4 separate regions of the Homo sapiens genome follow, and all the other regions are linked to region 1. Evidence: promoter capture Hi-C in 16 types of primary human blood cells and fetal thymus (Javierre and others, 2016). All regions are on one chromosome and are shown on one strand. The core of a region is centred on a gene start or on the middle of the fragment in contact, and the rest is flanking DNA. Distances in the headings are between cores, read along the strand shown. Region 1 holds the start of VSIG10L (V-set and immunoglobulin domain containing 10 like). Region 2 overlaps LOC105372448 (a long non-coding RNA gene). Region 3 holds the start of LOC124904796 (small nucleolar RNA U13). Region 4 overlaps SIGLEC5 (sialic acid binding Ig like lectin 5).

Evidence for each region. The method cuts DNA at HindIII sites, captures the fragments that hold promoters and counts their contacts. A CHiCAGO score of 5 or more calls a contact.
Region 2: a contact is called between a fragment that was not itself captured here and the fragment with the promoter of VSIG10L in region 1, in 7 of 17 cell types (naive B cells, total B cells, activated CD4 T cells and 4 more). The highest score is 10.6, in naive B cells.
Region 3: a contact is called between a fragment that was not itself captured here and the fragment with the promoter of VSIG10L in region 1, in 5 of 17 cell types (naive B cells, total B cells, erythroblasts and 2 more). The highest score is 7.8, in naive B cells.
Region 4: a contact is called between a fragment that was not itself captured here and the fragment with the promoter of VSIG10L in region 1, in 5 of 17 cell types (naive B cells, total B cells, megakaryocytes and 2 more). The highest score is 8.2, in naive B cells.

What each region holds. Positions count from the first base shown.
Region 1 is chr19:51,338,351-51,346,339 of GRCh38, reverse strand. VSIG10L (V-set and immunoglobulin domain containing 10 like) reads left to right here and starts at 4,201. Exons shown (of 10, transcript NM_001163922.3): 1 at 4,201-4,255; 2 at 4,333-5,187; 3 at 5,614-5,907; 4 at 6,041-6,325; 5 at 7,198-7,452. The coding sequence starts at 4,216. It overlaps VSIG10L-AS1 (VSIG10L antisense RNA 1), which reads right to left and starts at 6,320. Exons shown (of 5, transcript NR_186316.1): 1 at 5,623-6,320; 2 at 5,166-5,274; 3 at 4,355-4,490; 4 at 2,529-2,652; 5 at 1,645-2,268. ETFB (electron transfer flavoprotein subunit beta) reads left to right here. Exons shown (of 6, transcript NM_001985.3): 6 at 959-1,171. The coding sequence ends at 1,129. RefSeq lists enhancers at 1,659-1,758, 1,889-1,978 and silencers at 6,167-6,436, 7,087-7,426. The HindIII fragment of the contact is 2,004 bases long and covers 2,860-4,863 here.
Region 2 is chr19:51,772,660-51,780,648 of GRCh38, reverse strand. It overlaps LOC105372448 (a long non-coding RNA gene), which reads left to right. Exons shown (of 3, transcript XR_936049.2): 3 at 668-950. Among named protein-coding and RNA genes, the nearest start is that of FPR2, 15 kb to the right of the region's middle. RefSeq lists a silencer at 2,539-2,833. The HindIII fragment of the contact is 271 bases long and covers 2,520-2,790 here.
Region 3 is chr19:51,669,291-51,677,279 of GRCh38, reverse strand. LOC124904796 (small nucleolar RNA U13) reads right to left here and starts at 7,875; the gene lies at 7,772-7,875. The HindIII fragment of the contact is 5,735 bases long and covers 2,026-7,760 here.
Region 4 is chr19:51,613,192-51,616,575 of GRCh38, reverse strand. All of the region lies in intron 8 of SIGLEC5 (sialic acid binding Ig like lectin 5), which reads left to right. LOC124904753 (a long non-coding RNA gene) reads right to left here. Exons shown (of 3, transcript XR_007067313.1): 2 at 2,527-2,747; 3 at 860-1,152. Among named protein-coding and RNA genes, the nearest start is that of SIGLEC5, 16 kb to the left of the region's middle. RefSeq lists a silencer at 760-909. The HindIII fragment of the contact is 7,305 bases long and covers 1-3,384 here.

The DNA of each region.
Region 1 (7,989 bases), core at 2,952-5,451:
GGGAGGGTTCAATGAGTCATTTCAGCCATTACAGAGTGTTCACTACATCATCTCAGCCTATAGGGAGGGTTCAGCGCATCATCTCAGCCTATAGGGAGGGTTCAGCGCATCATCTCAACCTATAGGGAGGGTTCTGCGCATCATCTCAGTCTATAGGGAGGGTTCAGCACATCATCTCAGTCTATAGGGAGGGTTCAGCGCATCATCTCAACCTATAGGGAGGGTTCTGCGCATCATCTCAGCCTATAGGGAGGGTTCAGCGCATCATCTCAGTCTATAGGCAGGGTTCAGCGCATCATCTCAGCCTATAGGGAGGGTTCAGCGCATCATCTCAGCCTATAGGGAGGGTTCAGCGCATCATCTCAGCCTATAGGGAGGGTTCTGCGCATCATCTCAGTCTATAGGGAGGGTTCAGCGCATCATCTCAGCCTATAGGGAGGGTTCAGCGCATCATCTCAGCCTATAGGGAGGGTTCAGCGCATCATCTCAGCCTATAGGGAGGGTTCAGCGCATCATCTCAGCCTATAGGGAGGGTTCAGCGCATCATCTCAGCCTATAGGGAGGGTTCAGCGCATCATCTCAGTCTATAGGGAGGGTTCAGTGCATCATCTCAGCCTATTGGGAGCCTTCAGCATGCCATCTCAACCAAAAGTCCACTGAGTCATTACTACCAAAAGGATGGGTTTGCCACTCTGTTGCAGCCAGTGAAGGGCTTCCTGATTTGGTTACCTAAAGGAGGACTGCTGCAGTAGTTGGGCCTCCCAGGGCCTCCTAGCCAGCAGGAGTTGTCCACACCAGGTGTGGCCCTGTGAGAAGTTTCGCGTGTCCTGGCCAGTGGGTGGGTCCAGAGGGTTCAGCCCATGGGACTGGTCTGCAGGCCTGGCACCCATGGGAAGGAGGTGGCAGGAAGGGTGGCAGGAGTTCCACAGCCCTGTGAACAATGGCTTCCCATGTGCAGAAAGCCAAGAAGAAGAAGATCGAGGTGATCAAGCCTGGGGACCTGGGTGTGGACCTGACCTCCAAGCTCTCTGTGATCAGTGTGGAGGACCCGCCCCAGCGCACGGCCGGCGTCAAGGTGGAGACCACTGAGGACCTGGTGGCCAAGCTGAAGGAGATTGGGCGGATTTGAGCCCCTCCCAGAGATGGCAATAAAACTGACTCTCAACATCTATCTCTGTTAACTTATTTCCTAGAGACCCATTATTTGGTTCATTCAACATTTACTTGAGTCTTTTGTGTGCCAGGCCCTGTGGATCCAGTCCCTGCCCATGAGGAGCCTCTGTATTGATGCGGGGGACAATGAGGACAAAGGCAGCTGTAATTCGGGGTGAAGTATGCTAGACGTGGAGGCACACTGGGCCCTTGGGAACCCAACTGGGGGACCTGGCCTGGCCCAGCCGGTGGGGTCAGAGATTTCCCAGGGAGATGACTTCCAAGTTGAGTGTTGGAACACAAATATCAGTGAGGTGGGTGAGAAGAAGGGCTTTTATCCACGATGTTTGCAGGACACTCATTCTCTCTTGTGTCCCCAGTCTCAGCAGGGACACAGGAGAGAATGAGGCCAGAAGCTGTGGTTCTGGTGTGAGACAGACAAGCCACAGAGAATCAAAACTTAGCGTTGCAATGAACAGCCTGGGTCTACAGTCAGGTTAATTTTTTTTTAATTATGTTTTTTGAGACAGAGTCTCGCTCTGTTGCCCAGGCTTGCACCACCACACCCGGCTAATTTTTGTACTTTTAGTAGAGACGGGGTTTCACCATGTTGCCCAGGCTGTCTTGAACTCCTGACCTCAAGTGATCCGCCCGCCTCAGCCTCTCAAAGTGCTGGGATTACAAGCGTGAGCCACAGCGCCTGGACTAATTTTTTATTTAAAAAATTGTGTTCCATTCCTCTGGCCTTCTGATAGAGTCAGATATATTGATTTCATATGCTCACTCTTACCTTTGCCAGCTAGATCTTGGGTGAGTTCCTTCCTATTTTGAGTTTCAGTTGCCTCATCTGCAGATGAAAATAGTAACAGCATCATGTAGAGGTTAAGGGTATGGGTTCTGGGTCCCAGGGCCCTGGGTCAAATCCCACTGGATCCATTCCTGGATCCAGTTCAGGATCAGTTCATGTGCCTCAAATGGGGCCAGGGGATTGACTTCCAAGAGGGCTCACCCACATAGCCAGCAAGCTGGCTGGGGCTGCTGACCAGGGGCCATGATTCCCCTCCATGGGGCTGCTGATCCTCGCAGTGTGGCGGCTGGATTCCATGAGGGAGTGTCCTATGATACAGAAAGTGGCATATGCCGGCCTAGATGCAGATCCTGGCACAGGGCCACTTCCACGTCTTGGTCCAGCAGTCACACAGCTACTCAGATCCAAGCAGAGGGGACATAGACCCCGCATCTTAACAGGAGGACGCTCAAATTTGCAGCCCTCTTTAAGCTACATCATCTACTCCATGGAGTTTTGAAAGGTTAATTTATGTAGCACCCCCATAACCACACCTGCTATGCAAAAAATGCTAAATATATATTATTACCAATATTAGTCCGGGCACGGTGGCTCACGCCTGTAATCCCAACACTGGGAGGCTGAGGCGGGCAGATCACTTGAGGTCAGGAGTTCATGATAAGCCTGGCCAACATGGCAAAACCCCATCTCTCCTAAAAATAACAAAAATTAGCCTGGTGTGGTGATGCACACCTATACTCCCAGCTGCTGCAGAGGCTGAGACGGGAGAATCACTTGAACCCGGGAGATGGAGCCTGCAGTGAGCTGAGGCACTCACTGGGTGACAGAACGAGACTCCATCTCAAAATATATATATATTACCAGTATTATTACTGGTGAGAACTGGGCCAGGGTAAGCTTAGAGGACTGGGAGCTGAGCAGAGGCCCTAAGCTCCACATGGGATGGTGGGAAAAGCTATCAGAAGGAGTCAATGGTCTGACCATCCTGGTCCCAAGTCCAGCTTCTCCCTCTGGCTGTGCAACCTCCTGCAGGTCCCTTGACCTCTCTGAGCCTAAGTCCCCTGGCCTGCAAAGTGAGTATAATGACACTCAGCTTATAGGGTGTTTAGAAGTGTTCAGCCTGATAGTGCATAGGAAACATTTAGCGTAGTTCCTGGCTCAAATTAAGTGGTAATTATGGTTCTTAATAAGGTGAGACCTGAAGGACAAGTTGTGGTTTAGCCAGGTTGGAGGGAGGTGGAGAGTGGGAGAGAGCATTCCAGGTAGAGGACTGGGAGGTGAGATGGGCGGGCAGGATAAGAATGGCAGGATGTTCAAGTGCTTGAGTGGGGGCTGTGCATGAGTTTGCTTTGAACCTTGGATGTCTCCAGAGGGCACTGGGGAGCCAGGGGAGGGCTGTGAGCAGGGGGAGGCAGGTTCAGCTCTGGGTATAGAAGGACCCTGGCAGGGAATGGAGGAGACTGGGCAGAGGAGGGAGACGGGGCAGGAAGAGAAGACAGAGCCTGGCCAGTGAGAACTAGGGGGAGGAGGGTTGGACTCAGATCGACAGTGGTGACAGGGAGGGAGGAGGTGGGAATGTTCTCCAGCATTTGCGAAGACAGTGAAGCCATCCTGGAGGTGTGAGGAAGTTTGGGTTAGAGGAAAGAGTCTGAGTTTAGCGGGACACAGGCCATGTGAGGGCCTCGGGGATGCGGAAATGCAGCTCTGGTCTCAGGATAGAGGCCCTGGCAGGAGATAGCACCTGGAGACTTGGTTCTGAGGGCAACAGAGAGCCGTGGGAGGGTTTGGAGCAGAGGAGGAGCAGGGTCAGATGTATCTGAGGCTGCAGGCAAGACAGAGTGGAAGGAGCCAGGAGGCTGGGGAGGAGGAAGCCTGCTCTGAAGCTGTGGCCATCAGAGGTGGGGCTCTCGGAAAGGTCACCTCACCCTCCTCCAGGAAGTCTTCCTGGCTTTGTCTCACAAATTTGCTCCCACATTTTTAGCTGGGAATGTTTTCTCCAGCTTCCCCCTGGGGGTGGGGAGGGCAGGGATCAGGCTGGGCCTCTCTGCAGATGGGACCAGCTAATGAAGAGAGTGGGATGAGGTGGGCAGCTCAGCCACCACACTGGGGTTGAGGATCTTGGCACCTCCCTCTGGGTCTGGCTCCCTTCCCCTCCCAGGAAGCTAAGCTACCAGTCCTGTTGGACTCGTCTGACCCGGGAGGGATGGGTGCAGTCCTGGGTCTCTCTCCAGTGTCCTTTCAGTGAGGCCAGCACCATGGACAACCCACAGGCTCTGCCACTCTTCCTACTCCTGGGTAAGTTCCCTGCTCAGTCCCTTCCCTGTCAGTCTCCCTCAGCAGCCTCCCCCAATGCCTTCCTCTCTTCTCTGCAGCCTCCTTGGTAGGGATCCTCACCCTCAGAGCCTCTTCTGGACTTCAGCAAACCAACTTCTCCTCTGCCTTCTCTTCAGACTCAAAGAGCTCTTCCCAGGGGCTGGGTGTGGAAGTTCCCTCCATCAAACCTCCCAGCTGGAAAGTTCCAGATCAGTTCCTGGATTCAAAAGCCTCTGCTGGAATCTCTGATTCCAGCTGGTTTCCTGAGGCCCTGAGTTCCAACATGTCTGGGTCCTTCTGGTCAAATGTTTCTGCTGAGGGCCAAGATTTGAGCCCGGTTTCCCCCTTCTCTGAAACCCCTGGTTCTGAAGTATTTCCTGATATTTCGGATCCTCAAGTTCCTGCCAAAGACCCCAAGCCTTCCTTCACTGTTAAGACCCCAGCTTCAAACATTTCTACTCAAGTCTCCCATACCAAACTGTCTGTTGAGGCCCCAGATTCAAAATTCTCCCCGGATGATATGGATCTTAAACTCTCTGCCCAGAGCCCTGAATCCAAATTTTCTGCAGAGACCCACTCAGCTGCAAGCTTTCCCCAGCAGGTGGGGGGCCCACTCGCTGTGCTGGTGGGGACCACCATCCGGCTCCCCCTAGTCCCAATCCCCAACCCTGGGCCCCCCACCTCTCTGGTGGTCTGGCGCCGGGGCTCAAAGGTGCTGGCAGCTGGGGGCCTGGGGCCAGGGGCACCTCTGATCAGCCTGGACCCTGCTCACCGAGACCACCTGCGATTTGACCAGGCCCGGGGGGTTCTGGAGCTCGCCTCTGCCCAGCTGGACGATGCAGGGGTCTACACGGCTGAGGTCATCCGGGCAGGGGTCTCCCAGCAGACTCACGAGTTCACGGTGGGTGTGTATGGTAAGTGGGCCCTGGCGTCCGGCGTGCAGGCGGCAGGGGCTGCTCTGCTCTGCCAGGCTTTGGGCAAGTCACGGTGCTGTGGGGTCCCTGGATAGGAGAAGAGGACTTCTGGGTTGAGGAAGGGAGAAAAAGAGCTAGAGGTCAAGGCAGGGGTGTCTGAGCAAAGGTGGACCTGGGATGGAGACTCCTGGGAGCCTGAACTCCCAGGTCTGAGGGAGGAGGAGGAGGCTAGGAGCCTCTTCTGGCGAACTCCTGGGTCCCGGAGAGGAGGTGTCTGGGGGCTCAAACTCATAGGTTTATGAGAGGAGAGGGATGGGGGCTGAGACTCCAGGGGCTTAGAGGGAGCAGCGGCTGGGGTTCCCTCTAAGGGGACCAAAGATGGGCTCCAGGACTGGGTGGGTCCTGAGCCCATTCTCCCTCTCCCAGAGCCCCTACCCCAGCTGTCGGTTCAGCCCAAGGCTCCAGAGACAGAGGAGGGGGCGGCCGAGCTCCGGCTGCGCTGCCTGGGGTGGGGGCCAGGTCGCGGGGAGCTGAGCTGGAGCCGGGACGGACGCGCCCTGGAGGCGGCGGAATCGGAGGGAGCCGAGACGCCCCGGATGCGCTCAGAGGGCGACCAGCTGCTCATCGTGCGCCCTGTGCGCAGCGACCACGCCCGGTACACTTGCCGCGTCCGCAGCCCCTTCGGCCACAGGGAGGCTGCCGCCGACGTCAGCGTCTTCTGTGAGTGGGGGATGCCTCGGGTCGGGGACAGGGGGTCCTTGGGGAGAAGCGGGCTGGGGACCCAGTCTCCGGGAGTCCTAGCGGCGTCCCAGGTGACCCTGACACTCGCGGTCCCGACCCCTCCTCCCTCCAGACGGCCCGGACCCGCCGACCATCACGGTCTCCTCGGACCGCGACGCCGCGCCTGCCCGCTTTGTCACCGCGGGCAGTAACGTGACCTTGCGCTGCGCCGCCGCCTCGCGGCCGCCCGCCGACATCACGTGGAGCCTGGCGGACCCGGCCGAGGCCGCGGTGCCCGCGGGGTCGCGCCTCCTGCTGCCCGCGGTCGGACCGGGCCACGCAGGCACCTACGCCTGCCTGGCGGCGAACCCGCGTACCGGCCGCCGCCGCCGCTCGCTGCTCAACCTTACAGTGGCGGGTGAGAGGCTGGAGCGGGAGTAGGGGAATGCCTGGGAGAGGGGCGGGGCCAGAACGAGGGCGGGGCTAGAGGAAAGGGGCGGGGCCAGCAAGGAGGAGCAGCATACCGGTGGGTGGGGCAGGGCCAGCGGGAGGGCGGGTCACCAAGAAGGAGCTGGGATACCCGTGGTGGGGCGGGCCAGCGCGGAGGGGCGGAGACACCTAGGATAAGAGGCGGGGCCAGAAAGAGGATAAGGGAAGGAGCCAAATAGAGTGGCAGGGATGACCAGGACTGACGGGCCGGCCCAGCACTGAGAGGGCGGACATTCCTGGGCATGGAACACTCGACAAAGTCGACAAGCGGAGTTAAATGGCAAAGAGTGGGAGTTAGAAAAGGAAAGAACTAATTTGCTTAAGTGGGATCAGCAAAGGGAGAAGTTACCTGGCAAGGGGGGCGGAGTCACCAGGGAAAGGGGCGAGGTCATTTAGAAAGCGGGCAGAATTGTCTTAGAAAGGGGAAGGGGTCCACAAGGAAGGGCGGAGATATCTGGGAAAAGGGGAGGCTTCTCGGAGTGCAATCCAGGAGGGGGCGAAGTAACCTGGCAGAAGTGGGTGGAGCTGGAAAGGAAGGGGCTGAGTTACGTTTGGGAAGAGAAATATCATTGTGTGAAGATGCAGTTTTCTTAAGAAAGTTGGGCAGTCAGCAGGGCTGCGGGCTACCCACTTAGCGAGGAAGTTAATGGGAAAAGGGAACGGGATCGCAGGAAAAGTGGGGAGTGTGAGCGCCTATGGGGTGGGGCTAGTGAAGAAGGGTGGAGTCACCGCGCGGGGAGGCGGGGCTGGAGAAGAAATGAGAAAGGGACTCCATCTTCATTCTCTCCCTTCTCTCCGCAGACCTGCCCCCCGGGGCCCCACAGTGCTCAGTTGAAGGGGGTCCCGGGGACCGCAGCCTCCGCTTCCGCTGCTCGTGGCCCGGCGGGGCCCCTGCTGCCTCCCTGCAGTTCCAGGGTCTCCCCGAAGGCATCCGCGCCGGGCCAGTGTCCTCTGTGCTGCTGGCGGCCGTCCCCGCCCACCCCCGGCTCAGCGGCGTCCCCATCACCTGCCTTGCTCGCCACCTGGTGGCCACGCGTACCTGCACAGTCACGCCGGGTGAGAGGGCGCGGGGCTTTTTTGCTGTTTCTCGAGGAGGAGGGAGACTTTTTCTTTGGTCCTTCGAAAATTCTGAAGGGGTATGGGGTACGTCCTTAGTCCAAGAAAGAGGCAGGACTTCACTGTCTTCAAACTAGAAAAGGGACAAAGATTTTCCTATACCTCATGGTGGCGGGGTGCAGGGATGGGGGTATTTTTCTGGACACAGGAAGAAGGCCATCACTTTCACACGTGTTCAGAGAGATAAAGCAGTGATATTTTAAAAAGTAACAAGGCCGGGCGCAATAATCGCAGCACTTTGGTAGCTGGGGGCGGGAGGATTGCTTGAGTCTAGGAGTTCAAGACCAGCCTGGGCAGTGTGGCAAGACCCAGTCTTGTAATTATTATTGCTACAAAATAATAATAATAATAAAGAAGAAAGAATAGCTGAAAATAATATGAGTTTCCCAGTACAGGGCCTGCGCCTATGGTATGTGTTCAATAAGTGTTTGATGAGGAAATCAGATAATAAATGAATGAATGAATGAATGAGCTAAT
Region 2 (7,989 bases), core at 1,406-3,905, 440 kb before region 1:
GGGACTCAGTGTCCATCTCTGCTGTGGGCAGATTGGGCACTCAGCAGTGAGTGTAGCCAGATTGGCCTTGGCAAGTCAAAGTCCATGTTGCTGATCCCAGGAACAGCTTCTGTTCCTGCCACTGAAACTGTAGAAGCAGGAAACATGTTAGAATGATCAAGGATAGAAACTAGATTTCTCTGAATGTATCTACTTCCTCTTATGGTTTTTTGACTGTAACAAGAACGGGATAGGAGGTGCCAACTGGGAAGAAATTGTACTTGATGTACAACAGCATAACCTATATAAATTTTTAAAATCTTGCCCTTTCTTAAAACTGGGCTTGAAATTACATTCCTATTCCCATAGTCTAGATACCCATCGTGACTGGTAAAATGTTTACCGTGATTTGACTATCTAGAATGATCTCTAGAGACAGTGGCAGACTATATTTTCCACTGATATCTATGTTACATATTTATCTCATCCCACATGTTGTCTGTACAGGTAATTCACACTCCTCCCACTCCTTCCACAGAGAAGTGAGGATTTTTTCCCCCTCCTCTTCAATCTGGACCAGGACTTGTGACTGCCCTGACCAATGGAGTATGGCAGAAGTAATGCTATATCCCTTCCAAGTGTAGTTCATAAAAAGAATGAAACTTCCATTTAACGCTTTCCCCCTCAGATCACTCATCCTGGGAGATACCATCAGCCACGTTATGAGACTACTCCAGCAGTTCTGTGGTGAGGAAGCAACTTTCCAGCAACAACTCATTATCTATGGGATTATGTCACCTGGAAGTGAATTTTCTAGCCTCAGTCAAGCCTTCAGATAATTGCAGCCTCAGCTCACATCTGACTACAAACTCATGAGAGATTTCAATCCAGAAACACTCAAGCCAGAAACTTCCAAATTCCTGACCCAGAGAAATTGTAACAGATAGTAAATTAGATTACTATTGTTTTAAGCCATGTTTTGAGGGTGATTTGCCTGCAGCAATAGATAACTAACACAGGGACAACCTGGTATAATATTAGCTCAAGTGTGACTTAGAATAGGTGAAACATTATGAATTGCCAGGAGTTTTATCAACCAGCAAGCCTCCCAACTCTGTGTGGGTCTCACAAAATCTCCATCATTAGTAGTTAATTCTTTGACTCTATCTTCCAAACTTTATGCCTAGATTGCCATTTCAACTGGAAGAGAACACACTGGGCAAGAGGAACCATTGAGCACCTACTTCCCTACAAATTGGGACAGGAAGTTAGTGTTAGGACCTGAGGGAGGGAGAGTAAGGGACATAGTTTTTGGAGGCGATATTGGCTCTTTTTGTATCAGAGGTTGTCCTTCCTCTTTCACTGTGTTTCTCAGTAACTGTTATGTGCTTTGTGTGTACATACAAAAATCAGATCCAGATTTAGTTGGTTTGCTATTTGTGGTAAGAATTGAGGTGTAAAGGGCATGGGGGACTTTTTTCTGATAAATTATTAATTCTGTTCACTGTTGCTGAGAACCTCTTCTTTCAGAAGAACAAAGTATTGACAGCTTAGCTTGTCCACACCTGTGATTTCACGATCACAGCCTCACTCTCCAAATTTGCTTTCCTAACTAGGACTTCTCCCCATGTTTCCCTCCCAATGGCTGTGTTACCACCGCATATAAAAAAGACCATTTGTTCTATGGTGTGGACCATAAAGATATATCCGTGTTTCCAAGAGGTAATATTAGTTCTAATTCTCATGGTCTAATATTAGTTCTTATTATGTCCTCTAGTTAAAAGAGTATTTATTCAACTGCTAGAAAGCAGGGGAATCATTGCTGGGCGCAGTGGCTCACACAGAAATAAGCCCCGTGTGGTGGCATGTTCCTGTGGTCCCACCTACTCGGGAGACAGAGGTGGGATGATCGCTTGAGCTGGTGAGGTTGAGGCTTCAGTGAGCTATGATTGCACCACTGCACTCCAGCCTTGACCATAGAGCAAGACCCTGACTCAAAAACAAAACAAAACAAAAAAAGAAAACAGGGGAATCTGATTGCACATTACAATTTACCAGGGAATACCTAAAGGGAACAAAGTTAATCTGTGATTAAACACAGATTATTGTGCTCTGCTCCAAACTTTATAAATCAAGATGCTTTGATGTTGCAGTGACCTAACCCATATTAAAACAAACAAACAAACAAACAAACACCTCCCCAATTGACTCTGATGAAACAGCATCAGTGTAGGTCAACATTCGGGACGCAGTTAACTAGATGGTGTTTGGAGCCGCAGGAGGCATGAGATGGAAAGATAGAATGGAATCACAGTTGAACAGTCGCCAGCATCCTAAGCATTTACATGGACTTTCTTTCGTCTAATGGCACTGGTAACTCATAGAATGGGATGAGATACAGGAGAGATCTCTAGCCTCCACCGTCTCTGGAATGTACATTTTGGAATGAAGGGGACTTTCTGCATTGAAAGAACAAAGTTACTTGTACAGATGTGCTTAGAAATGTATTCTGGGCGAGCTAGCCCACAAATAATCAAGCTTTCCAAGGGTTATCTCCCAATGCGGTCACAGAACTGAGTGAAGCAAGAGTTGCATTTCCTTGTGTTTTCTTTTAGCTGCCACAAGAGGGAGCTCGATGTCTAATGAGTTCGTTTTCACGAGCCCAGGAGACCCGAGCCAGTCATGCCGGGGATGGCTTCCTCCTGCTGCCTTTGACCCTCCCTGTCCTAGCAAGTATGAATTTAGAGAATTGCAGCACCTATATGAAAGGTGTCCTGCTTCAAGCAGCCTAATTTCAGGAGCTATGAAGCTTTACTGGTATAAAGAAAAGGGGACCCGAATTCGATTGACTTATTTTTCGTTTTTTCCTCTTTTATTTGAAACAAGGTCTCGCTGTGTCACCCAGGCTGGAGTGCAGTGCCACAATCATAGCTCACTGCCGCCTTCGCCTCCCGGGCTCAAGCTATCCTCCCACCTCAGCCCCAGTCCTTCAGCTGGATCTACAGGCACGCACCACCAAGCCCAGGTAATTTTTGTATTTTCAGTAGAGACGAGGTCTCACTATGTTTCCCAGGCTGGTCTCGAACTCCTGGGCCCAAGCAATTCGCCCACCTCGGCCTCCCAAAGTGGTGGGGTTACAGGCATGAGCCGCTACATCCAGCTGACTTATTTCTCTTAGCTTTTAAAATGTGGACTATAACAACCACCCCACACACAAACACACACAATGAGAAAAAGATAAACGTGAAGATTAATATATTTGTGTAAAACAAAATGCTCATGTACTCCCACTCATGTCAAGAAATAGATCACTATTTGTTTTTCAGAAAAGTTGTCTTCCTAAGATGTGGCAATGGGCTTTATAGCTCTGATAGTAGATAAGAGCAGAGAAATCAACTAAATTACAAACGATCTTTTTTAGTATTACTTTTTTTAATTTTTAATTTTTGTCGGTACATAGTACATAGTAGTTGTATATATTTATGGGGTACATGAGATACTTTGATATCAGGCATGCAATGTGTAATAATCACATCATAGAAAATAGAGTATCCATTCCCTCAAATATTCGTCCTTTGGATTATAAAGAATCCAGTTATACTCTTTTAGTTTTTAAAAAATATATAATTAACTTATCATTGACTATATTCACTCTATTGTGCCTTTGAATACTAGGTTTCATTCATTCTTTCTGTTCTTTTTGTACGCATTAACCATCCCCACTTCTCCCCCGACTCCTGCCACCCTTCCCAATTTCTGGTAACCATCCTTCTATTCTCTATCTCCATGAGTTCAATTGTTTTGATTTTTAGCTCCCACAAATAAGTGAGAACATACAAAGTTTGTCTTTCTGTGCCTGATCCATTTCACTTAACATAATGACCTCCAGTTCCATCCATGTTGTTGCAAATGACAGAGTCTCATTATTTTTCATGGCAGAATAGTACTCCATTATGTATATGAACAATTTTTTTTTGTTCATTCATCTGTTGATAGACACTTAGGTTACAAACTATTGTAATTTTTTTCTATAGACAAACACACAGTCATGCAAAGGAATGTGTGTGTGCACAGGTATTCATTGTAGCTTTTTTTTTGTAATGAGCAAAAGATCAAAAGCAATTTGGTCAGATTAAATTTTGTTACATTCATCCAATAAAATACAATGCAAAAATTAAAAAGAATGAGGAACTTTGAGAATACAGACACAGAAGGAGGACTTTCTAACTCATGATAAATCCACGATCACCCTAATAACCAAATCCATTTAAAGACATTACAAGAAAACAAAACTACAGACCAATAACTCTCATGAACATAGATGCAAAAATTCTCAAAAACATATTAGGAAATCAAACCCAAAAATGTCTAAACTACTATAATGTAATGTATAAAACAAAGTATAAAAATTATTCATGCCAGGTATGCAAGTCTAGTTCAAATTTCAAAAATTAATTAATGTAATCAATTACATCAACAGACTAATGAAAAAACCACATAGTTATATCAGTAGAAGCAGAAAAAGTATTTGACAAAATTCAACACTCATTCATAATTTTTAAAAATGCTCAGTAACCTGGGAATAAAGAGGAACTTCCTCAATCTGATAAACAATGCCTACAAAAAATCCTACAGCTAACATTATACTTAACAGTGGGAAACTTGACGCTTTCCCAGTAAGGCCAGGAACAAGGCAAGGACGTCTTCTCTCATATTGGTTTTCAGCATTGCTGAAGTCTTAGCTAATTCAATTAAAAACAAACTAAAAAGGTATGCATATTGGAAAGGAAGAAAAAAAAACTATTTTGTTCACAACTGACATGATCATCTATGCAGAAAATCCAAAAGATTGGATAACAAACATTCCTGGAAGTAATAAGTGATTATAGCAGGGTTGCAGAGTACAAAAAAATCAATCACTTTCCTAGATACCAACAGTGAGCAAATGGAATTTGAAATTAAAAACACAATACTATTTACATTATGTCCCTCAGAAATGAAACACTGAGTAAAAATCTAACAAAATATGTACAAGATCTATATGAGAAAAACTACAACACTCTGATGAAAGAAATTATAGAAGAACTGAAGAAATTGAGAGATAGTCCATGTACAGGGCTAGGAAGATTCAAGATTGTCAAGATGTCAGTTTTCCTCAATTTGATCTTTGGATTCAGTACAATCCCAATAAAAATTCCAGCAATTTATTCTGTGGATATAACAAACTGATTCTAAAGTTTACATGGACAGGGAAAAGACCCAGTATAGCCAACATAATATTGAACAAGAAGAGCAAAGTTGGAGGACTGACACCATCTGATTTCAAGACATACTGTAAAGCTACAGTAACCAAGACAGTGTACTACAGGCAAAAGAACAGACAAATAGATCAATGGAACTGAATAAGAGAGCCCAGAAATAGACTCACATTAATATTGTCAAGTGATCTTTATCAAAGGAGCAAAGGCAATTCAATGGAGAAAAGATAGTCTTTTCAACAAATGGTTCTGGAATGACTAGACATCCATGTGCAAAAAAGTAACTTTAGAAACAGACCTTACATGCTTTGCTAAAATTAACTTAAAATGGATCGCAGACCTAAATGTAAAAGACAAAACTATAAAACACCTAGAAGATAACATAGGAGAAAATCTAGATGACGTTTGGTTTGACAATGACTTTGTAATTACAAAACAAAAGATATAATCCGTGAAAGAAAGAATCAAGAAGGCAATTCTTATTAAAATTGAAAATTTCTGGCTGGGCATGGTGGCTCACACCTGTAATCCCAGCACTTTGGGAGGCTGAGGTGGGAGGATCACTTGAGCCCAGGAATTTGAGACCAGCCTAGGCAACAAAGTGAGACCCCCATTTCTACAGAAAATAAATGATTAGCTGGGCATAGTGGTGCATACCTGCAGTCCTAGCTACTTGGGAGGATGAAGTGGGGGGATCACTTGAGTCCGTGAGGTTGAGGCTGCTGTGAGCTGTGATGGTGCCACTGCACTCCAGTGTGGGTGACAGAGTGAGACTCTGTCTCAAAAAAAAAAAAATCTAAAAAAAAAAAAAATCTGCTCTATGGGAGAGTGTTGCAGGAGACATATCAGATAAAGGACTGTTATCCAAAATATTCAAAGAACTCCTAAAACTCAACAATAAGGACACAGAAAGCCCATTTTAAAAATGGGCCAAGCCCTTAACAGGCACCTCAAGAAAGAAGATATACAGATGCCAGGTTAACATATGAGAGGGTGATACACATCATATATCATCAGGGAAATGCAAGTTAAAACAGTGAGATACCACCCTACACCTATTAGAAATGGCCAAAATCCAGAACACTGACACAACCAAATGCTGGCAAAGACATGGAACATCCTCATTCATTATTGGTGGGAATGCAAAATGATACAGCCACCTTGGAAGAGAGTTTGGCAGTTTCCCATGCAACTAAACATATGCTTACCATACAATCCAGCAATCATGTTCTTTGGTATTTATCCAAACAAGTTATAAACTTCTGTCCACACAAAAACCTGCACATGGATGTTTATAGCAGCTTTATTTATAATTGTCCAATTGGGAAGCAACCAAGATGTTTTTCAGTAGGTGAATGGATAAATAAATGATGGTACATCCAGACAGTGGACATTATTCAATGCTAAAAAGTAATGAGCTATCAGTCTATGAAAAGACATGGAGGAAACTTTAAATGCATCCTACTAAATGACAGATGCCAATCGTAAAAGGCTACATACTTCATGATTTCTACTATATGACATCCTGGAACAGGAAAAAACTATAAAGACAATGAAAATATCAGTGGTTTCCAGGGGATAGGGAGGAGGTAGGGGTGAATAGGCAGGGCATAGAAAATTTTTAGGGCAATGAAACGAGTCTGTATGATACTGTAATGGTGAATACAAGTCATTATACTTTTGTCCAAACCCACTGTATTAGTCTGTTTTCTTTTTTCTTTTTTTTTTGAGATGGAGTCTCCCACTGTCGCCCAGGCTGGAGTGCAGTGGCGCGATCTCGGCTCACTGCAAGCTCCGCCTCCCGGGTTCGCGCCATTTTCCTGCCTCAGCCTCCCGAGTAGCTGGGACTACAGGTGCCCGCCACCACGCCCGGCTCATTTTTTGTATTTTTAGTAGAGACGGGGTTTCACCGTGTTAGCCAGGATGGTCTCGATCTCCTGACTTTGTGATCCGCCCATCTCGGCCCCCCAAAGTGCTGGGATTACAGGCATGAGCCACCGTACCTGGACAGTCTGTTTTCATACTGCTGTAAAGAACTGCCTGAGACTGGGTAATTTATAAAGGAAAGAGGTTTAATTGACTCAGAGTTCAGCATGGCTGGGGAAGCCACGGGAAACTTTTACAATCATGGCAGAAGGGGAAGGGGAAACAAGCCACCTTCTTCACAAGACAGCAGGAAGGAGAAGTGCCCAGTGAAGGGGGAAGAGCCGCTTATGAAACCATCAAGATCTCATGAGAACTCACTCACTACCACAAGACCATCATGGAACTGCCCCCGTGATTCAATTACCGCCACCTGGTGTCTCCCTTGACACGTGGGGATTATGGGGATTACAATTCAAGGTGAGATCTGGGTGGGGACACAAAGCCTAACCATATCACCCGCTGAAAGTAAAACACCAAGAATGAACCCTAATGTAAACTGTGGGCTTTGGATTAATGATGTATCTGCGTAGGTCTATCAACTGTAAGAAATATATTACTGTGGTCGGGGATGTTGATAATGAGAGGGGTTGTGCATGTGTAGGGGCAGTGGGTTTATGGGAAATCTCTGTATTTTCTTCCCAATTTGCTATGAATCTAAAATTGCCCTAAAAAATAAACTCTAGGCCACGTACAGTGGCTCATGCCTATAATCCCAGCACTTTAGGAGGGTAAGGCAGGAGCATTGCTTGAGCTCAGGAGTTCAAGACCAGCCTGGGCAACTTGGTGAAACCCTGTCTTTACAAAAAATACAAAAATTAGCTGGGCA
Region 3 (7,989 bases), core at 3,644-6,143, 330 kb before region 1:
TAGCATCATGACTTGCCCAAAATGGCCAAGAGGCAGCCTCTCCTTCCACTTGAAACCATAACTGGGTCCTTTAGTGGAAGTGTTTCTCCTTGAAACACTAGGACTCGCAAAGCCACCCACTCCAAAGTTGCAAATTTAGGAAGCAAAAAATTGCATAGGTGTGTGATTAGGTGGAATAAGGAAGAGGAACCAGTTCTACTGTGTCCAGAATTGGTTCCTTCCGGTGGGTTCTTGGGCTTGCTGACTTCAAGAATGAAGCCGCAAACTCTTGCAGTGAGTGTTACAGTTCTTAAAAATGGCGTGTCTAGAGTTTCTTCCTTCAGATGTTCAGATGTGTCCAGAGTTTCTCGCTTCCGGTGGGTTTGTGGTCTCACTTGACTTCAGGAGTGAAGCCACAGACCTTCGCAGTGAGTGTTACAACTCTTAAAAGTGGCAAGTCTGGAGTTGTTTTGTTCCTCCCGGTGGGTTCGTGGTCTCACCGACTTAAGGAATGAAGCCACAGACCTTCACAGAGTGTTACAGCTCATAAAGGTAGTACAGACCAAAGAGAAAGCAGCAGCAAGATTTACTGTGAAAGGCAAAAGAACAAACCCACCACAGCCTGGAATGGTACCTGAGCTGGTTGCCGGGTTGCCACGGGTGGCCAGCTTTTATTCCCTTCTTTGGCTCCACCCTCATCCTGCTGATTGGTCCATTTTACAGAGCACTGATTGGTCCATTTTACAGAGTGCTGATTGGTGCATTTTTACAGAGTGCTGATTGGCACATTTACAAACCTTTAGCTAGACACAGAGCGCTGATTGGTGTGTTTTTTACAGAGTGCTGACTGGTGCATTTACAAACCTTTAGCTAGACACAGAATGCTGATTGGTGCGTTTTTAGAGAGTGCTGATTGGTGCATTTACAAACCTTTAGCTAGACACAGAATGCTGATTAGTGCGTTTTTACAGAGTGGTGATTGGTGTGTTTACAATCCTCTAGCTAGACAGAAAAGTTCTCCAAGTCCGCACCCGACCCAGAAGCCCAGCTGGCTTCACCTCTCACTACCTCCACTGCTTGGTTTTCACATTGTGTATTCTGGCTCTGGGAGAAATGGCACTGTATATTGGTGCTGGTTTAAGGCAAATACTGTTCGATAGCACCTCACCCAACCTCACCAAATATTCACCGCCAGATGGCACTATAACTTGCCTTCAGTAGGTCATTTCATCAATACATCAAGTCACCTGCTTCTGGGTAATGAGGCCCACAGTTGTATTTTATTGGCCTTAAAATTATTTTCTTGTTTAGTGTGTGGGAACTGGAGGGGTTGTGCATTTAGCTGGCATGGTAAAAAAGATAAGGGATTCTTTTAAGGTAGCCATAGATGCTTTCTGATGTTTCTAACATATCTCTTAAGTTGGGCATGCAAGGACTCATTTATCTGTTTTTTTTTTTTTTTTTTTTTTTTTGAGAAGGAGTCTCACTCTGTTGCCCAGGCTGGAGTGCAGTGGTGCGATCTTGGCTCACTGCAACCTCCGCCTCCTGGTTCACAAGCAATTCTCCTGCCTCAGCCTCCTGAGTAGCTGGGATTACAGGTGTGTGCCACCACACCTGGCTAAATTTTGTATTTTTAGTAGAGACGGGGTTTCACCATGTAGGTCAGGCTGGTCTTGAACTCCTGACCTCGTGATCCACCCGCCTCGGCCTCCCAAAGTGCTGTGATTGCAGGCGTGAGCCACCGTGCCCAGCTATCTTTTCCTTTTTGTTTGGTCTTCAAGTTGGTCAGAGGCAGCCTGTCTGCCACACAGTCTTCATAATAACCTTTATCACCAAGGTGACTGAGTGCCACTTAATTTCCCAATGCTTTGCCCTCCACCTTCACTCTCTGTTATTTCACCATTAGTAATAATTTGAGTAATCATAACAATAAAAATGAGTAAGAGGCTTAAGTATAAGACACATGTAAAATAAGAAAATAGTAATATATTGGAATGTGCAAACTGAGTAAAGGGTTCTAATGTCCTATCTTATATTGGAGAAGCTTTAAAAGGTCACTAACTTTAGACTTTATTAACTGTGTATTATATGTTTTTTAAAGAATAACTAATAAACTTAGCAATAGAGTGCAAAACTTTTAAACTTGTGGGAAAGAAATGAACTAAGAAGAATAGAAATTACTCCAGCAGTCCAAATGTAGGCCAGAAAGAGGAAAAAAGGAATCATTGAAAAGGCAAAAAAAAAAAAAACCAAAAAAACAAAAAAAAAAAAACGCAGAACACAAAGCAGGTACAAAAATAATAGATTTAAATTCAAATATATTAGTAATTGCATTAAGTGTAATGTAAGGCTTCAGTTAAAATCAGTTTGCTAGACTGCGCCAAAAGAAATCCAACTGTATGCCATTTACAAGAGACACATCTAAAACATAGTGATACAGGAATGTCAAAGAAAAAAGATGAAAATTTATATATAATGCAGCAAATACTAACCAAAATAAACCTGGGTAGATATATTGACATCAGCTAAAGTAAAATTTATTTAGGCAAAGTGTTTAGGCAAAATACTTACCAGTAATGATGATCATATCACAATGATAATAATTTCATCAGAACATTTAAAAACCTAATTAGTATGCACTAAATAATGCAGCCTCAAAATATATAAATCCAAAGTTGTCAGAACTACAGAAAATGTCCAAATTCATAATCATAGTGGGAAATTTTTTAACATATCTCTTTCATTAATGAGTAAATTAAACATGAAAAAAGTCAGTGAAGATGAAGAAAATCTACACAACATCATCAACAAATTGACTTAAACAAAAGACAAAACAGTACACTCACAACAGCAACAATACATGCATTATTAAAGCACACACAGAATATTTGTACAACTTGATCAGAGACTGAGCCATTGAGAAAATCTCAACACAGTTTAAGGGATTTATATCACAAAAAGTATATTTTCTGATCACTTTGTTGTTAAGATGGAGATCTGAAACAAAAATATTATTGAACTCTTGAAAGGTTGAAAATTATGCCTAGGTTTTCTTCTAGGGTTTTTATGGTTTTAGGTTTAACGTTTAAATCTTTAATCCATCTTGAATTGATTTTTGTATAAGGTGTAAGGAAGGGATCCAGTTTCAGCTTTCTACATATGGCTAGCCAGTTTTCCCAGCACCATTTATTAAATAGGGAATCCTTTCCCCATTGCTTGTTTTTCTCAGGTTTGTCAAAGATCAGATAGTTGTAGATATGCGGCATTATTTCTGAGGGCTCTGTTCTGTTCCATTGATCTATATCTCTGTTTTGGTACCAGTACCATGCTGTTTTGGTTACTGTAGCCTTGTAGTATAGTTTGAAGTCAGGTAGTGTGATGCCTCCAGCTTTGTTCTTTTGGCTTAGGATTGACTTGGCAATGCGGGCTCTTTTTTGGTTCCATATGAACTTTAAAGTAGTTTTTTCCAATTCTGTGAAGAAAGTCATTGGTAGCTTGATGGGGATGGCATTGAATCTCAGGACATAGGCGTGGGCAAGGACTTCATGTCCAAAACACCAAAAGCAATGGCAACAAAAGACAAAATTGACAAATGGGATCTAATTAAACTAAAGAGCTTCTGCACAGCAAAAGAAACTACCATCAGAGTGAACAGGCAACCTACAACATGGGAGAAAATTTTCGCAACCTACTCATCTGACAAAGGGCTAATATCCAGAATCTACAATGAACTCAAACAAATTTACAAGAAAAAAACAAACAACCCCATCAAAAAGTGGGCGAAGGACATGAACAGACACTTCTCAAAAGAAGACATTTATGCAGCCAAAAAACACATGAAGAAATGCTCATCATCACTGGCCATCAGAGAAATGCAAATCAAAACCACTATGAGATATCATCTCACACCAGTTAGAATGGCAATCATTAAAAAGTCAGGAAACAACAGGTGCTGGAGAGGATGCGGAGAAATAGGAACACTTTTACACTGTTGGTGGGACTGTAAACTAGTTCAACCATTGTGGAAGTCAGTGTGGTGATTCCTCAGGGATCTAGAACTAGAAATACCATTTGACCCAGCCATCCCATTACTGGGTATATACCCAAATGAGTATAAATCATGCTGCTATAAAGACACATGCACACGTATGTTTATTGCGGCACTATTCACAATAGCAAAGACTTGGAACCAACCCAAATGTCCAACAATGATAGACTGGATTAAGAAAATGTGGCACATATACACCATGGAATACTGTGCAGCCATAAAAAATGATGAGTTCATATCCTTTGTAGGGACATGGATGAAATTGGAAACCATCATTCTCAGTAAACTATCGCAAGAACAAAAAACCAAACACCGCATATTCTCACTCATAGGTGGGAATTGAACAATGAGATCACATGGACACAGGAAGGGGAATATCACACTCTGGGGACTGTGGTGGGGTCGGGGGAGGGGGGAGGGATAGCATTGGGAGATATACCTAATGCTAGATGACACATTAGTGGGTGCAGCGCACCAGCATGGCACATGTATACATATGTAACTAACCTGCACAATGTGCACATGTTCCCTAAAACTTAGAGTATAATAAAAAAAAAAAAAAAAAAAAGAAAATTAAGAAATTTTATCCAGTATTAGAGATGGAACCTAATGGGAGATGTTTGGGTTATGGGAGTGGGTGCCTCATGAATGGCTTGGTACTGTCCTCTTGGTAATGGGTGAGTTCTTGCTCTATTAATTCTTACAAGAGCGGTTGTTAAAAAGAACCTGCCACCTGCACTGTCCCTATCTCTTGCTTTCTCTCTCCTCATGTGATCTTTGCACGTGGTGGCTCCCCTTTACCTTCTGCCATGAGTAGAAGCGGCCTGAGGCCTCACCAGAAGCAGATGCTGGTTCCATGCTTTCTATACAGCCTGCAGAACTGTGAGCCAAATACACCTCTTTTCTGTATAAATTACCCAGCATCAGGTATTGCTTTTTTAGCAAGACTAAATGGACTAAGACAGATATGAATAGCTTAAAATCATATTACTGGAATTGAAATAAGATAAACTGAATTCGATCTTTCTTCTCAAGAGATAAAAAAACTCAAGAAAGTAGACATAAGAAAATAATAAAATAAGTACTAAATAATACATGTTTTAAAATGCATACAACAGAATCAACAAAGCCCTAACTTGTTTGGTGAAAAAGTAATAAAATTGATAAACCTCTGGGGAGTCTAAATACAATGAAAAGAGAGAAGGCACATGTAACTAATGTCAGAAATAAAGGACATAACCACTGATGTTGCAGACATTGAGAATATACGATAATATTTTGAACAATTTCACATACTTTGACATTTAGATTAATGGATAAATTAATAAAAATATGTAATTTAGTATAATAGCCTCAGAAAACAAGTAGAAAACCTGAATAGTTCTAAAACTATTCGGAAGAATCAGTAGTAAAAATCATCTCACCAAGCAAACTTTAGGTCAAGATGGCTAAACTTTAAGTATACCAGCAAATTGTACCAAAACTTAAGGAAGAAATTACTCTATTCCTATTCAAACTCTTGCTCATTTTCTGTGGCTAATTATAAAATTAATACCCAAACTCAACAATATAAAAAAATAAAAGTATAGGCAAATCTTAATTAGGCATATAGTGGCACAAATATTAAGCCAGAGTTTGCAAATTAAATAGAGCTAGATATAAATATGATAATGCATCATAGCCAAGATGTGTTTATGTCAGGAATGCAAGGGTGGTTTAACATTAGAAACTCATTTAGTGTATTTATCACAAGCTCAAATACAAGAAAAAAACATAATATGACCATCCCATGGAAGGTGGAAATGAGTCTGATGAAATTCTACCTTTATCCATAACAATTCTCATCAACTGAGGAATATACAAATCCAATTAGAAAAAAAAATCAGGCAATCCAATAGCAAAATTGGCCAATCACTTCAAAAGTGACTTTACAAGAAGAAAATCCAATGAACTCCAATTGTATAAGAAAAGGTCCTCGACCTCTTTAGAGGTAGAAACCAATCAGTGTCATAGTGGATACCATTACATACTCATCAGATTGCTAAAAATGGAAAGTACCAAGGGTTGGCAAGGATGTGGGGCAATGGTAACTCTCATATTGTACACTTTTGGGAGTGTAAATTCATGCAATTGTTTGGGAAAATTTTTTAGCATTATCTACTGAAGTAGGAGATATATACACACACTTACATACAGACCATCCCTGACTTATGATGATTCAAGTTATAATTTTTCATCTTTACGATAGTGCAAAAGCCATACACATTCAGTACTCAGTATACTGAGTACACATTCAGTATAATCCCATCATACATGGAAAATATTAAGTAGAAAATTACTTCTGACTTACTATATTTTCAATTTATGACAGATTTATCAGGATGAAACTCCACCATAAGTTAAGGAGCATCTGTACACAGGCATACTGACATATATACAGAAGTTCCTCTAAGATGCATCCTCTAGAGACAGGGTTCTACTAGGAGATACCAAGATTCTTTCAGGGGGCATCTTCAAGGTCAAAACTATTTTAGTAATAATACACAGATGTTATTTGCGTTTTTCTCTGTGTTGACATTACATTGCTGGTGCAAAAGCAATGGTACATAAAAGGGCTGTAACCTTAGCCGGAAGCAAGGTAATAGCACTAAATTGTGCTAGAAAGTTGTATTCTTTATCACTTCACACTCACTGTTAAGGAAAATTCCAGCTTCATTTAAGATTGCACTTGATGAAACAGTAAAAGCTATTAATTGTGCTAAATCTCAACTCTTGAATACACTTTTTTAAAACTTTTATTTTAAGTTTGGGGTATATGTGCAGGTTTGTTGCATAGGCAAACTTGTGTCCTGGTGGTTTGTTATACAGATTACTTCATCACCCAAGTATTAAACCTAGTATTCGTTAGTTATGTTTCCTGATCCTCTCCCTCCTCCCACCCTCCACCCTCCAGTAGGCCCCAGTGTGTGTTGTTCCCCTCTATGTGTTCTCATCATTTAGCTCCCACTTACAAGGCAAGTGGATCGATGAAGTGTGGTATATCCACATAATGGAATACTATTCAGCAATGAAAAAATGAAATACAGCTATATGAATACATAGAATATTGTCATCAATGTGATATTATAAAAATTTGCAAAATCAAATGAACACATGGAATCTTGTTCCATACATGTAAATATGTAATCTTAAAAATAGCTAAAAGAAAACTATTATGCTGGGCACAGTGGCTCATGCCTGTAATCCCAGAACTTTGGGAGGCACAAGGCAGGCAGATCACCTGAGGTCAGGAGTTGGAGACCAGCCTGACCAACATGGAGAAACCCCTTCTCTACTAAAAATACAAAATTAGCTGGTCATGGTGGTGCATGCCTGTAATCCCAGCTACTCAGGAGGCTGAGGCAGGAGAATCATTTGAACCCAAGAGGCGGAGATTGCGGTGAGCCAAGATCGCACTATTGCACTCCAGCCTGGGCAACAAAAGTGAAACTCCATCTCAAAAAAAAAAAAAGAAAAGAAAAAGAAAACTACATAACTAATAGCAATAAAAAGAAAAGTGAGCGCAAAATTATCAAAAAGTTAGAATGTTACTGACTTCTGGAGGGAGGCATGGATTATTACTGGGGAAGCCACATGCAGGGGATTCTGAAATATTGTGTATGTTTCATTTCTTGACCTATATGACTACTTTAAGATGAATCTTAACATCTACTTCTGAAACTATTCAGAAGCTTTTTTTTTTCCATTCAGATGAGTAATATGCCGATGTTGTAACAAGGAGTGAGGGAGGCACATCTTATACACGAGCCTGAAAACCCAGTCCTCACACTTATGAACTACAAAAGGATCTAGAAAGTAGCTTTTCAAGCAGTAAACAAAGATTCAATTTGTGGTATTGTTTTAATTAAATTGGATCATCAGCTTGACCAGATTTCCCAAAGAGGAAGTAATCCTTTCCTTGT
Region 4 (3,384 bases), core at 874-3,373, 270 kb before region 1:
CTTCATCCTTCCCTACTTCCTTTTAGGGGATACTTCTGACGGCCCTTCTAGCTCACTAATTTGCCCTCAATTATAGTCATTCTATTCTCCATCCCATCCATTGGGCTCTTCCTATGATATTTTTCAGATATTTCCACATGGCCCTTTTTGCATCAAGTACACAATTACATAATTCCTTATTATGTTTCACATTCATTTTGCATGCACACTTTGTTATTGACAAAGTTTCTTATGCTTGTTTTCATGCTGCTAATATTGCCACATCTTTTTAGTGCATGTAATATGCTCAGTTTAGCTTCTTGACCAAAGCGTCCTAGTACTTGTGCTTCTAGTGGTCTATCAGGTTCTGTTGGTTTGCTTTTCTTCAAAGGTGCCCAGCCTTCTGAGCTGTGAGCTCACATTCCCCTGGGGTTATTGGCTACTCTGGCAGTGTTTCTTGAATGAGGGAAGGGCAGATGCTGGCCTGTGTCAGGCTTACTGAGCCAAAGAAATGACAGGGACGCCGGGCACGGTGGCTCACGCCTATAATCCCAGCACTTTGGGAGGCCGAGGTGGGCAGATCACCTGAGGTCGGGAGTTTGAGGCCAGCCCAACCAACATGGAGAAACTCCGTCTCTACTAAAAATACAAAATTAGCCAGGTGTGGTGGCACATGCCTGTAATCCCAGCTACTCGGGAGGCTGAGGCAGGGGAATCTCTTGAACCTGGGAGGTGGAGGTTGCAGTGAGCCGAGATCATGCCATTGCACTCCAGCCTGGGCAACAACAGTGAAGCATCGTCTCAAAAAAAGAGAAATGACTGGGACAAGCCCCAGGGTGGATCCCCTCAAGAACCCAAACCACACCCAACCAGTCCCACTTCCTATCACCCCAGTAAGGCAGCTTAAGTCATCCCTCCATCTTCAGACCCTCGTGGAGAAGCAACATTGGTCAAGGACTCTCGTTGCATTGTGATCCACCAGCCCTGGGAGTTTGGAGTGGAGAAAATGGCAAGGAGAATGTCAAAGACCAGTGAGCTTCCACCTCCGTTCTCCTTCTCCTCACCCCAGTGGGCCTCTGGTGCTTACCCAACACATGCCTGTTGGACACTGGCACATCATAATCCTGTCCATACTCTGAATTCTGCAGTGAGGGGCAGACAATGTTTGTCCCACTGGAAGGGTAGAGGAGAGAAAGGAGCAGAATTCAAGTATGTTTGGGCTAACCCATCCTCTCAACAAGCCAGCTGTCCCCCCGCCCAGTTCTCCCACCCCTTTTCTTCAAATGAGCCTTAACTTTCCCCTAGGGATATCAGTGTGATTGATTGATCATAAATTGATTTGTAAAGTTTTGTTCACCCAGGAGCTCCATCTTTAGTTCCATCATTGGTAGGTCTTGGAGAACAGAGCCGGTGTATGAATTCACTCTTTTGACAAGAACTATGGTAGAGAGAGCTTTGTTTTCTCCTTTATTTTACCTTTAACCATTCTGCACACTTTCATGCCATAGGCAGAATGGTAAAGCGAGGCACAGCATGGTCCCTGGAGTTTGACGTCCTGCATTCAGGTTCTAGATTCACCCACTTGCAAGCTGTGTGACCTTGGATAAGCTAATGAACCTCTCTGTTTTTTTGTTTTCTCCTATAGAAATTGGGTTATTAATATGCTAGTATCTGTCTCGGATTGTTACAAGGAGTGCTTAGTAAAGTGGCAAGCTCACAGGGAGCTCACTTATAACTGTTACCCAGTATTACTTTTCCTTCTGTCTAACAAGGAACTGCATGACGGGGAGGTATTTGGGTGGTTTCAGTCTGCTTTATGTCCTCATTTATACGAACGGCATCTAGCCCAAAGAAAGCACTCAGCAAAGAGCTATTGAGTGAAAGGGTGAACATACTGCATTGTCCTATTTACTAATCTGAGCTGTGCCTTTTCTTTCAGTTGTCAATTTCACCCTTTTTATTTCATATACCGCACACCTATTGATAGACATATGTCTTTATTTCTTCCTTTGCCTGCATAATGCTGGTGTGCATAGCCACTTTTTCATTTTATTTCATCTTTCTTGTGCCTAATATAAGCAGCTCTCTCCAGAAAGTCTATTTTTTTCTGACACAATGAAGCCATTTTTCCCTAACTGCGGAGTCCTTTTAAAAAAACTGTATGGCCAGGTGTGGTGGCTCACACCTGTAATCCCACCACTCTGGAAGGCTAAGCTGGGCCAGTCGCTTAGCCCAGGAGTTTGAGACCAACCTGGGTAACGTGGCGAAACCCTGTCTTTACAAAAATTAGCTGGGCATGGTGGCTTGTGCCTGTGGTCTCAGCTACTCAGGAAGCTGAGGTGGGAGGATTGCTTGAGCCAGGGACGGGAGGTTGCAGTGAGACGAAATCACACCACTGCCCTCCAGCCTGGATGACAGAGTGAAACTCTGTCTCAAAAAGAAAACTTCTGAGCTACTGTTTGAAGACTCACGTTGCTTTCAACATATTTTCCATAGCGTGATGGGTAGGGATATGGGTGAAGGTGGGAGAGGAAAGAAATTGCTTACTTGTATCTGGTTACCATCTTTGCTGGGGACAGGATCTGCTCCATTTTGTTTCTCTTTCATGGAAACTGGGTCCAGGATCAGAATTGCCATCTCTTTTCTGGTTTGCACATAAGACACCTTGTAACCTATGCCGAAGGTATACATTTGCTTCATCAATAATCCGCTCCTCCTGCCTAGGTCAGGGTCTATGTCTGATTTCTCACACTGTACGTGCCCAGAACCTGAAACAGGGGAGACAGGGCTGAGTTCGAATCCTGGCCTCGCCATGTATTAGATGAATAACCCTGGGCAAGCTACTTAACCTCTCTCCACCTCAGTTTCCCTGTGTGTAAGGTGGGGATAATTAGAATATCTTTTATACTGTTGTGGGTTTTTTTTTGGTGATGATTCAATGTGATTAGTAAGTCCTCAATATGGTCTGATCAATCATAGTATTACAAAATTTTGAAAGAATGAGCGAATAGTTGAGTTCACAGGAAATGTATATGGACAGGTGGGGCCGGGATTTGAACCCAGCCCTGTCTGCCCTGTGCCGGTTCCTGGGCACGTACAGTGTGAGAAATCAGACATAGACCCTGACCTAGGCAGCCTATGGCCTGTCCTTAGGAGGAGTGGATTATAAAAGGATGAATTGATAAATGTCACATCAGCCCAACTTCCCTGTGGGAACCATTTGTTGTATTTTTCTCTTATTTGGTGTTGAGGTCTCTCTTTGGGGAGTGGTCATAAAATCTAGCCCGGCCTTGAATGGGAACCCCAGAGATCTGGCCATCATGTTCACAGTGTGACTTTCACAGAATACTCCTTTATCCTGGCACACCACCTGCTGCCTGAGTGCCCAGCCTGTGACCCCCTCTC